Regions from separate parts of the Homo sapiens genome. Here all the other regions are linked to region 1. The links are contacts of gene promoters, found by promoter capture Hi-C in blood cells and fetal thymus (Javierre and others, 2016). All regions are on one chromosome and are shown on one strand. The core of a region is centred on a gene start or on the middle of the fragment in contact, and the rest is flanking DNA. Distances in the headings are between cores, read along the strand shown. Region 1 holds the start of LECT2 (leukocyte cell derived chemotaxin 2). Region 2 overlaps SMAD5 (SMAD family member 5). Region 3 has its middle 21 kb from the start of SMAD5.

Region 1 (3,814 bases), core at 482-2,981:
GTATACTAAGCTGGATTTTGTAGGGGCAACTGTGCTCTGCATGGCATCCATTCCCTTCCCAGGGCAGCAGGATCATCTGCCTCACGGCGATGTAGAAACACAGGAAGGAGTGTGCAAAGACTAAGGCCCCAGAAGACCCAGGCTTTCCCGACCCACTGCCACTTCTGCCTCATCTTAGTGGTCAAAGCTACACAGCTAAACCCAAAATCAAGGGTGAGGAAAGTTCCCTTTGCCCCCATGAAACATGGCAAAGGTGTGGATGCAGAGAGGGTGAAGAACTGGGGCTACAATCCCAATCTCCCACAGCTACTGGCACATAATTTAAATGGGGAAGCTTCCATAGAAAATTCCAGGTGCTCATCTAATATTAAGCTAAAAAGGAGCTGCTAACATATATTTGAAACACACTGAAAATTTAATTCCCCAGAAAAGTACAGGGTAACATAACATCCATGTGTCTATCTCCAATAATTAACAAATTAATATTTTAACATATTTGCTTCTGATTTTTTTCTTTTTTTAGAAATAAAATATTTTAGAGTTTATGTACTCTGTATATCCTTCCACGGTTTTATTTCTCTCACTATCCAGAAGTAATTAGTACCTTAAAGGTAGTCTGTGCATATTTTTATTATACATACAGCATTCATTAAGATTAATATACTTGTTTTCAGATTTTACATATTATAAATAGTATGATACTATATATATAATTCTAAAAATAGCTTTTTAATTCAACAGTATATCTAGAGATCTAGCTGTGTTAATACATGTAGATTGTCTTCATTTAAATTGTTATATTTTACTCTGTTGTATGACTGTATTATTCTGTTCTTGCATTGCTATAAAGAAATACCTGAGATTGGGTAATTTATAAAGAAAAGAGGTACAGAAAGCATGGTAGCTTCTTGGGACGTCTCAGGAAACTGAAAATCATGGCGGAAGGCAAAGGGCAAGCAGGCATGTCTTACACGGCTGAAGCAGGAGGAAGTGAGAACAGGGGAGGTGCTACACACTTTTAAACAACCGGATCTCACCATAACTCACTCACTCACTATCAGGACAACAGCACTAAGGGGATGATGCCAACCCATTCATGAGCACTCTAGCCCCATAATTCAATCACCTCTCACCAGGCCCCACCTCCAACACTGGGGATTACAATTGAACATGAGATTTGGGTGGGGACACAGATCCAAACCATATCAATGACTATATTATAATTAATCTTTTTTCCTTTATTGATGGATGCTTTTAATGGTGTTAACTTACCATTATCATAAACAAGAAAACATTTAAAAATCACATATTTAAGGTGAATACATGCAATTTTATTAAAATATTAAAGTTATTTGCAAATATTACACAGGTGAAATATAATTAAACTGAGAATTCAAAAACACCTAAGGGATATATTAAGGAATATGTTATGAAGGGCTACACATTATTAATGACCAATTTTCTTCTGAAATATGTGCTATCAAGGAAATAAAAGAAAGATCTACCAGCAGGCAGCACTAAATATTCCATCATTCGCACGAACATTCTCCTACAAGCCACAGCCCAGAAGACTGTCGATATGCACCTAGCCTTATCATTTTCTGTTAATATTTAGTCAGTATTTCCAATATAATTGGCTTCTTCTTCAGATCAAAGGCTTTTACATAGGCCCTACCTGCAAATCAAATAGCTATCCATGGAATATTAGAACTTGACTTGCTCCATCCTCTTAAACTTTTTGTGTCTCACACTAAAGAAATGAGAGATGCAGAATTCTAAGGCTAAATAGCTAGGAAGTATTCATTCAAACTTGAATATTCTTCAAAGAGAGTGTGGGGGCAACTCTAATCAGAGGAAGAAACTAAAGGAAGTAAAACCAGATGTTTTCCACCAAAGCCCTCCTTTTGGCTGGTCTGATTTCTACCGGTAAGTCGAAAGTGCAATTTTAGAATATTGATTAACTTTTAAAAACTGATTTCAGGGGAAGACTAAAAAGATTAAAAAGTCATTAATAGCATGATCACAACAAAGACTTGTGTATTTGGCTATTAAAAATGAAATAGGAATGACACATGGTCCTGAGGATGTTTTAAGTAATTTAAATGGAATGTTCCGGTTCTTTAATGAGGGAAACATAATAGTGGGTTGAGAAGACATTACAAAGCCTTTCAGTCTGAGTCTGGGTCTGGGACTTAACTAGAACAAAACTAGATAATAAAAAGTTGATATAAATATTTGATTCTGATTTTGATCAAAATCAAATTCTGATACAGATACTAATACAGAGACTGGTATGGATTAAGACAAAGGGATGGCTCCCTTAATACTCACCGAAGGAGGAAAAAGTGAATAAATTACTACACTGTCTGATATTTGCCTCAATTCCCAAGGATAAATATTAGTTGCCAAAGTGATGGGATTATATCTTGATCAAGGTGTTGATTTGGAGCTTGGCTCCAAGGCATAAAACTTTTGAAACCCACCTTTTAAAAGTATTTTAAAGAAGAGGCTTAATGGCCATATTCTGTAGGTTCTCTTCACAGGATAGGTATTAATGAAGAGTAAAATGTCTTTAAATAAAATCAATAGTCAAATTACCAGGCTCTCGCTTTTGCTTGTTTGTTTCAAAGTGCAAGGTTGAGTGTGCTCACTGTATCTCTCTGTGAATGTTAACACTGGAAATCCAGGACATTTAATTCCATTGAACATTTATTAAGTGCTTACTATAGTAAAGAAACAAATTGTGCCTGAAACAAAGTTTGCACCAAGTCTGCTGAGAAAGCAGCCCCTCCTCCACGTTTCATAATTTTTCATATAATTGGTTCTACTCCTTCTCCTACCTTCACCCCTAATCTCAGTCTAGGCTAAATTGGTTTGACATTTCAGATTATTTTTAAGAATCTCCCTCTTCCATGTTGGCAACTATGAGAGATTTATCTAGTGTTAAACAAACTTGGCTAGTACAGAGTTCGTTTCTCCTTTAATTCAAACATTTGCTTGGATTTGATTAGTGGAACTAACCATTTCAAAATTACAATTTCTAAAATTATTTTCTGAGCCATGCTATTTTATTATTTTTGCTTAATCTAAAAATAATGATCCCCATGGCAGATAATGAGCAAAGAAAAATAGAAAAGCACAACTTATACCATTTACTAATGGATCTGAAGCAAAGTATAATGATGGAGGCCAATGCTTATAAAGAAACACATTCAGCTGGGCGCAGTGGCTCACGCCTGTAATCCCTGCACTTTGGGAGGCTGAGGCAGGCAGATCACGAGGTCAAGAGATCAAGACCGTCCTGACCAACATGGTGAAACTCCGTCTCTACTAAAAATACAAAAATTAGCTGGGTGTGGTGGTGCGCACCTGTAGTCCCAGCTACTCAGGCGGCTGGGGAAGGAGAATCACTTGAACCCAGGAGATGGAGGTTGAAGTCAGCTGAGATCACGCCACTGTGCTCCAGCTTGGCAACAGAGTGAGACTCCGATCCAAAAAAAAAAAAAATTGTATTCACTGATACTCTAACGTCACAAAGCAGAATTCTGTGGCCAGGGAAAAAGCCAATTTTACATCTGAATCAGGAAATAAAATTCTGGAAGGACGATCTTCCCATAAATACATAAAGTCCAGGGAAAACTACAGTGAAAACAGAATTGTCAGGATCAACTGTGTGACTGATAAGGCAAATGGGGATAGGAAATGTCTGAGGCCAGGAGCTCTGCTCTCACTTTTCTCCTTTTTAGCACTGGCAGGGCCATGGGCTAATATATGTGCTGGCAAGTCTTCCAATGAGATCCGGACGTGTGACCGC
Region 2 (3,814 bases), core at 452-2,951, 200 kb before region 1:
GATTGTCTCGATCTCCTGACCTCGTGATCTGCCCACCTCGGCCTCCCAAAGTGCTGGGATTACAGGCGTGAGCCACCGTGCCAGGCCCAGATCTTCCAACTTTTGGTTCCAACCTATATTGGTTACTGCTCAAGTCTCCTACAAGTCTGAAGTCCTTGGACTTCCCTTCTCTACTGCTGGATCACATTTCCTGGACCTCATCCTCTATTAGTGTCCTAAGAGAAAGTAAAAAGTTGAATTTTCTTGACTTCCTGCATGTATAAAAATTTATTTTTTTTGCTTGTCGGCAGGCAGATAACATTTCCTTCTGAATTTTGACAGCACTACTTTACTTTCTTCTAGAATCCAGAACTGCATTGAGAAATCCAGTATTCTGATTTCTAGTCCTTTATATGTTTCCTGTCTTTCTTTTCTGGAAAGTTTTCAGAATCTTTTTTTTAATCTATGATATACAAAAATTTCATGTGGGGCTTTTTTTATCCTTTGTTCTGATTACTTGGTCACTGAGCCCTTTCAATTTTCAGTTTGGGGAAGTGTTTGATATTATTTCTTGGAAAATTTTCTCTCTGCCATCTTCCTCAATGCTCTATTTCCAGAATATATTATTCTATTAGAATTGATATTTAATTTGAAACTGATTCCAGGCCACTTAATGTTTTAACAAGTACTTTTTAAGGCACCAACTCATCTAATGCTCATAACAACCTATTAGGTAGGTAGTATTATTACCATTTTACAATGAGGAAACTAAATCTCAGAAAGGTTAAGGCTTGAGGTAGTATTTGGTAAAACCAGGATTCAAATCCAGAAAGCCTGGCTCCAGAACCCACAGTCTTAATCAATAGACAATACTGTCTATTAGATCAGGGGTCCCTAACCCCCCCAGTTCATGCTCTCTTATGAACCAGGCCATACAGCAGGAGGTGATGGTGAGAGAGAGTGAGCGAAGCTTCATCTGTATTTCCAGCCACTCCCCATTGCTCTCACTACCGCCTGAACTCCGCCTCCTGTCAGATCAGTAGCAGCATGAGATTCTCATAGGAAAGCAAATCCTATCGCCAACTGCACATATGAGGGATCTAGGTTGTGCGCTCCTTATGAGAATCTAATGCCTGATGATCTGTCACTGTCTCCCATCATGCCTGGATGAGACAACCTAGCTGCAGGTAAACAAGCTCAGGGCTCCCACTAATTTGACATTATGGTGAAATGTATAATTATTTCATTACATATTACAATGTAATAATAGAAATAAAGTGCACAATAAATATAATGTGCTTGAATAATCCCAAAACCATCCCCCAACCAATTCTATGGAAAGACTGTCTTCCATGAAACTAGACCCTGGTGCCAAAAAGCTTAGGGTGCACTGTATTCAACTAAACACCTAGGACCACCTAGGTTGGCCCTCTATTTTTCTTATGTTCATTATCTCTTTCTAACTATCCTCCATCTTTTTATCTTTTTGCAAAACTTACTCCACTATATTCTAACTGTGTGAGCATGCCTAAGTTACTTCCCTTTTAAGTCTTTGTTTCCTTATCTATAAACCCATAAGTAAACTGAAAGGGTTGTAAAATGTCAGTACCCTTTTCTAACCCCATGAAGGAATCACTATTCCATCAGTGCTCAATAAATATTAATTGCTATCACTGTTACTACTATCACTACCACCACCTTCTACTACTTTATTAATACTGGTAATATGAAGTGATCCATTCTGCGTCATAGCTGCTTAATCATGGGGGGTCAGCAAGCTAATCTAGCTGGGTAATCTGCCCCTTCCCCCAAGAGTTTGGGCTCAGGGCGAAACATGAGGTCTCTATAGTCTCTTTCCAATAGTTGAACTAGTAAGACATGAAATTTTCCGTTATTTAAAAGTATCAGAGCTATGCCCCAGTCTTTTCTATAGAATGAATCATAGCTGAGAAAAATGTATACAAAAAATAAGACATTTCTATTGGCTGGCTGACTACTAGTCACACTTTGGCTATAGGGGAATACATAAAATTCCTAGACTCCCTCCTAGCAAATAGCAAGCTTGGGAGTTTTTCAGCCTATACTTCTCTATTAAATCCTTTTATCTTCCTTTCTTCATCAGTTCCTTCAGCTATCAGCTTTCCTTGGACTCAGTAAGAAACTGAGAATCATATCATACCAACTGTCTAAAGACACTCTAAAGCTCTTAAGTTGAACTTTCACAGACAGCATAATCACTGCTATCTGCTATCCTTTCTACTAGTCTCCACATCCAATGTTATTTTCAGTCTTTTTACCACACATCTCCACGTGAAACCCAGATAGACTCTAAGGTAACCACTGTGATTCCCACCTCCAGGTATTCAAACCATTGGGTAATTCTCCCTGCTTGAGTATGAGTATGACCTATCACTTCCTTCTAACCAACAGAATATGGCAAAGGTGACAGCGTATGTATGATTACATTCCACAAGAATATAATGTCCTTCTTACCAGAAGACCCTCTCTTCCTTACTGGCTTTGAAGAAGCTGTCATGAATGTGAACTACCTATAAAGAAGGCTATGTGAAAGCAACTAAATCTGTCAACAATCACATGGGCTTGGAAGCAGATCCTTCCCTAATTGAGCTTCTGATAAGACCTTGGCCCTAACCAACACCTTGATTACAGCGCCTTGCAAAGGACCCAGCTAAATGTGACTGGACTCCTCACCCAAAGAAACTGTGAGGTAATAAACATGCATTGTGCTAAGCCACTAAGTTTGTGGCAATCTGTCATGCAGCAATAGATGACTAATGCACTCAGCTAGCAGCTCAGCTTATACCATTCATTATAAAAAAAATTTACTGAGCATCACCTACCAAGTGCCAGACAACAATATACTATTCTAAGCACTAAGGATAGAGTAATGAATGAAATAGAGGAAGACTCTGCTCATGTCAGTCAATAAACAAAATAAATATCTAATATAGAGTCAATTAGTGATGCGGATATTTGAGCAAGGACTGAATGGAATGAGAAAATGTGCCATGGAAAGATCCTGGGGGAGAATAAGTAGACAGCAAGAGTTAAAGCCTGGAAACAGGAGTATGGCAAGTCCAAGGAACAGAGAACTCTGAGGATAGGTCATACAGAGTCTTACAGAAATCTCTTTAAGTGTGACAGCCTTGAAAGTGTTTTCAGTAGGAACTGACATGATTTAGTATGTTTTTAAAAAATCATTCTGGCTGTTGTGTGGAAAACACAATGGGTTAAGGGGAAGAAGAGACGCAGAAAGACCAATTAGGACACTACTTAAGGTGAGTGATGATGATGATGTACTGTACTAAAGTAGTGATGTCACAAATGATGAGAGGTGACATATTTATTAAGACATATTTTGAAGGTGCAGCAAACAGCATTTGCTCATATTTTAAATATAGGATTTAAGTAAGAAGAATAAAAGATGACCTTGCAGTTTAGGGCATTAGCAATTACATGAATGCTGTTGCCATTCACTTCAATAGGGGAAACCAGAGAAAAAAAACTGCGCTTAGACATATTACATTTGGTATGTTTAATAAATAAATATTCAAGTGGAAATGTCAAGTAGGCAACTGGATACACAAATCTAAAACTCAAGGGAGAAGTTGACTTGAGTTCAAAATGTGAGCATCAGCTTATAGACAATCTTAAGACATGTGACAGCATGAAAGCACATAAAGAAATAATATAAATGGAGAAAAGGTCCATGGACTGACTCCTGTGAAAACAGGAGAATACGCCAGCAAAGAGGGGCAAGAACAGTCAGTGAGGTAGGAGAACCAGGATAGCATACTGTCTTAGGGGCCAAACA
Region 3 (3,814 bases), core at 560-3,059, 160 kb before region 1:
TTGTAGCCCCATCTCCTGCTACCACCTCCCCAGGCCCCTCAAACTGGATCACCAGCCCCACCTGCAACATCCCTGTAACATGCCATGGCCTTCTCTGCCTAGCCAAGGTGACCACCAACTTCGCCTTGGATCTCTCTCTTTGGAGAACCTCTCTCCCTCCATGCCTCCATACTGGCTTTGTTTACACACTGCTGCATTTGTGTGTCTGTCTGCCCCGACACTGTGAGCTCCCTGAGGGCAGAATATAGGCTCAGGTTTATCTTTGTTTCCAGCATCATACAACATGCATTCAATGTGTGCTTACAGGAGGAACGAAGTCACTTGTCTTTGTGTCCTCAAACCCAGCACAGCACATAGTACAGAGCCCATCAGTCCCACTCACAATTCGCTGACCAAGTGAATAAATGAGTGTCTTTGCTCTCCTTTTTATCCCCCAGATTTACCACCAGGCCTGGAACAGAGTGAATGACAGTAAATATTTCCAGAATCAAATGAATAAGCCCCCATCACCACAGGACCTCAGAGCTTTCCAGGTGTCCCCTGGGAGGGCAGAAATTAAAGGGAACAGACAGTGCCCAGAAATCAGCTAACCTGGGTGCTGGTCTTGGCTCTAGTTCATGGTGATGGTAACACTGAAGACATTTGAGCCTTCCTAATCCCAGTGCTGGGATTATGGACTGAACCCTAGCTGGCAGAAGGCAGCAGATTCCAAGGACTATTTCCCCCAGAGCTGCTTCCTTCCTGGTACTCTCCATAACCCCAGCAGGCCCCTCAACTCCCACTAGACCACACTGCTCCTCTAGGGGCTTCCCTTGCCTGCTGGTTCACAAACGCTGCTGCTCCCCTCCACTCCCTCTTTCCCTTAGCTGTGAGTTAAGAGTCCTGGGGCACTTCCCCATACTGACAATCTCTTTGGCCCCACCTCTCATAGAAACACATGCTCCTTTTGCAAGGGCCCATGTGAAATTCTGAGCATGACAGCTTTCCCTCCCAACTCTCTGATGTATAAAGGAATCTGAAGACAAGAAGGCACTTTGTTTTTGTCCCTAGTGAGCTTCCTAAAATGTTTACAGGTGTGTATTAGGCCATTCTTGCATTGCTGTAAAGAAATACCTGAGACTGGTAATTTATAAAGAAAAGAGGTCACGAAATGACCTCATGGTTCCACAAACAGTACAGGAGACATGATGCTGGCATCTGGTCAGCTTCTGGAGAGGCCTCAGGAAACTTACAGTCATGGCAAAAGGTGAAGTGGGAGCAGGCATGTCACATAGCCAGAGCAGGAGCAAGAGAGGGAAGGTGTCACACACTTTTAAATAACCAGATCTTATGAGAACTCACAATCATGAGGACAGAACCAAGAGGATGGTGCTAAACCATTAATAAGAAATTCACCCCCTTGGCCGGGTGTGGTGGCTCACACCTGTAATCCTAAGCACTTTGGGAGGCCGAGGCAGGCAGATCACCTGAGCTCAGGAGTTCAAGACCAGCCTGGGCAATGTGGTAAAATCCCATCTCTACCAAAAACACAAAAAATTAGCTGGGCATTGTGGTGCATGCCTGTAATCCCAGCTACTTAGAAAGCTAAGACAGGAAAATTGCTTGAACCCAGGAGGCGGAGGTTTCATTGAGTTGACATCATGCCACTGCACCCCAGCCTGGGTGACAGAATGAGACTCTGTCTCAAAAAAAAAAAAGAAAGAAAGAAAGAAATTCACTCCCATGATCGAATCACTTCCCACCAGCACCCCCCCACCCACCCCCCAACACTGGGGATTACATATGGACATGAGACTTGGGCAAGGACACACATCCAAACTATATCAAGGTGGGTGACAATCTTGTTCTCTACTCGCTAATCTTCACTGCCTGACAACTGCCTGATGAGCCCTGAGTCTCTTCCCAAACTGTTTTTCTAGGTCTGCAATTTGAGCTGCCACCAAGCTCTGAGCCTGGGACTAACAGCTTAGGGGTGATTAGCAGCTTAAAATGGAGAACCTTCCCTCATGTGGCTGTGAGACAGGCATATGAAATAGTAATTTTGACAGTAATTTGAGTGTACTGTTAAGTGTATTGTTATTGCCCCTATTTCACAGGTGAGAAAACTGAGGTTGAAAGCAACATGAGAAGGCCATTTGCTCAAAATCATATTATTATTATTATTTATTATTTGAGACAGAGTCTCACTCTGATGCCCAGGCTAAAGTGCAGTGGCTCAATCATATAGCTCACTGCAGCCTCGACCACCCAGACACAAGTGATCCTCCAACCTCAGCCTCCCCAGTAGCCGGGACCACAGGCAGATGCTACCAAGCCTGAGTTATTTGTTTTTATTTTTTGTAGGGATGGGGTCTCCCTACATTGCCCAGGATGGTCTCAAACTCCTGGGCTCAAGTGATTCTCCTGCCTTAGGCTCCCAAAGTGCTGGGATTACAGGTGTGAACCACCATACCCAGCCAAAGTCACACTTTTAAGTGATAGAGTCAAGTCTGTATGAATCCAAAGCCCAAAACTTTGATGCCTTGCTATGCTGCTATGTGTTCTGAGAACAGCCCAAATCTGAATGTTTTAAAGCCTAATTCATCCATAATGTTGAGTAGTCATTTCTGAAACTCAGACAGATTTGAATGATGCTGAAGATCATAGAGCATCCAGGTTTCCAGATGATAGGACTATTAACTTGGATTTGGGGAAAAAAAGAGAATTCTAAGGATCCACATAGACACCCTGAGAGGCAAGTTTCTGTTGCTATGCAGCAAGCTGTGTGCTAGGTAAAGATGACACGGAGCTTCAGTTTCCTCCCTTCGATCATTATTTTACTTCCCTGTTCAAAAATACACACCAAACATCCTCTACACAAGCATTGCTCATGTAACTGGTGTACAACCATGGACAAGCAGATGCAGTCCCTATTCTCATACATCTCATATTCGAATGAAATTCTGGAAGGGAACAACATTCCCTCCTTGTTAGAGCATCCTAGTCATCCTCTAACAAGCCTGACAATGGCCATCAGCTCTCTGCTTACACTCTTCCTGTGACAGGGAACTCACTGCTGCTGTAGGAAATGGTTCATTCCTTTATATACTCAGTTTCTTAGGTAATTCCTTACAATGAGTCAAAAATGCCCCACTTCCCCTATAACCCATCCCCATTTTATTATCATTACTATTCTTTTTGAGATAGGGTGTTGCCCTGCCACCCAGGCTGGAGTGCAGTGGCACAATCATAACTCACTTGCAGCCTCAAACTCCTGGGCTCAAAAGATCCTCCTGCCTCAGCCGCCCAAATGACTGGGACTACAGGCACATACCACTGTGCCCAGCTAATTTTTACATTTTTTTGTAGACATGGGACCTTGCTTTGTTGCCCAGGTTGGTCATTCCCACTATTGACAAGGATACATATCCTCTGGAAACCCACAGAATAGGTCTAAGGTCTTCCATCATGAGTTAGCTTTTAAATATTTCAGGGTAGTTCACATGACTTGTATAAATCTTCTCACTGTTAAAAAGGCTCAGAGACAGTTCTGGGCCTCTCCCCAGAAACAACATTAAAATTGGAAGCAGATCTCAGATGAGGTGGGATTAAGGGAAGCAAAGACTTCTCACCCCATGCCACCTTTCCAACAGGTCCAGCTGACTTTACTGACTCAAAAGAGGCACACGTGCTGTTCCTCAGACTCAGGTTCTAGAGCAGTTGATAATGTCTTGCTAGGGAGGAGGACTCTGTCCTGGCCTGCTTATCTGCAAGAAATGATTCTATGGTCTGAATGTTTGTGTTCTTTGTAAATTCATATGTTGAAACCTAGCTC

The links. Contacts are between HindIII fragments. The CHiCAGO score rates a contact against its expected background, and 5 or more counts as called.
Region 2: a contact is called between a fragment that was not itself captured here and the fragment with the promoter of LECT2 in region 1, in 4 of 17 cell types (M0 macrophages, megakaryocytes, M2 macrophages and 1 more). The highest score is 6.7, in M0 macrophages.
Region 3: a fragment that was not itself captured here is called in contact with the fragment with the promoter of LECT2 in region 1 in 4 of 17 cell types (monocytes, M2 macrophages, M0 macrophages and 1 more); the score reaches 6.0 in monocytes.

What each region holds. Positions count from the first base shown.
Region 1 is chr5:135,952,900-135,956,713 of GRCh38, reverse strand. LECT2 (leukocyte cell derived chemotaxin 2) reads left to right here and starts at 1,731. Exons shown (of 4, transcript NM_002302.3): 1 at 1,731-1,926; 2 at 3,747-3,814. The coding sequence starts at 1,881. The HindIII fragment of the contact is 4,908 bases long and covers 337-3,814 here.
Region 2 is chr5:136,154,891-136,158,704 of GRCh38, reverse strand. All of the region lies in intron 3 of SMAD5 (SMAD family member 5), which reads right to left. Among named protein-coding and RNA genes, the nearest start is that of SMAD5-AS1, 22 kb to the right of the region's middle. The HindIII fragment of the contact is 682 bases long and covers 1,361-2,042 here.
Region 3 is chr5:136,109,937-136,113,750 of GRCh38, reverse strand. No RefSeq gene overlaps it. Among named protein-coding and RNA genes, the nearest start is that of SMAD5, 21 kb to the left of the region's middle. The HindIII fragment of the contact is 8,576 bases long and covers 1-3,814 here.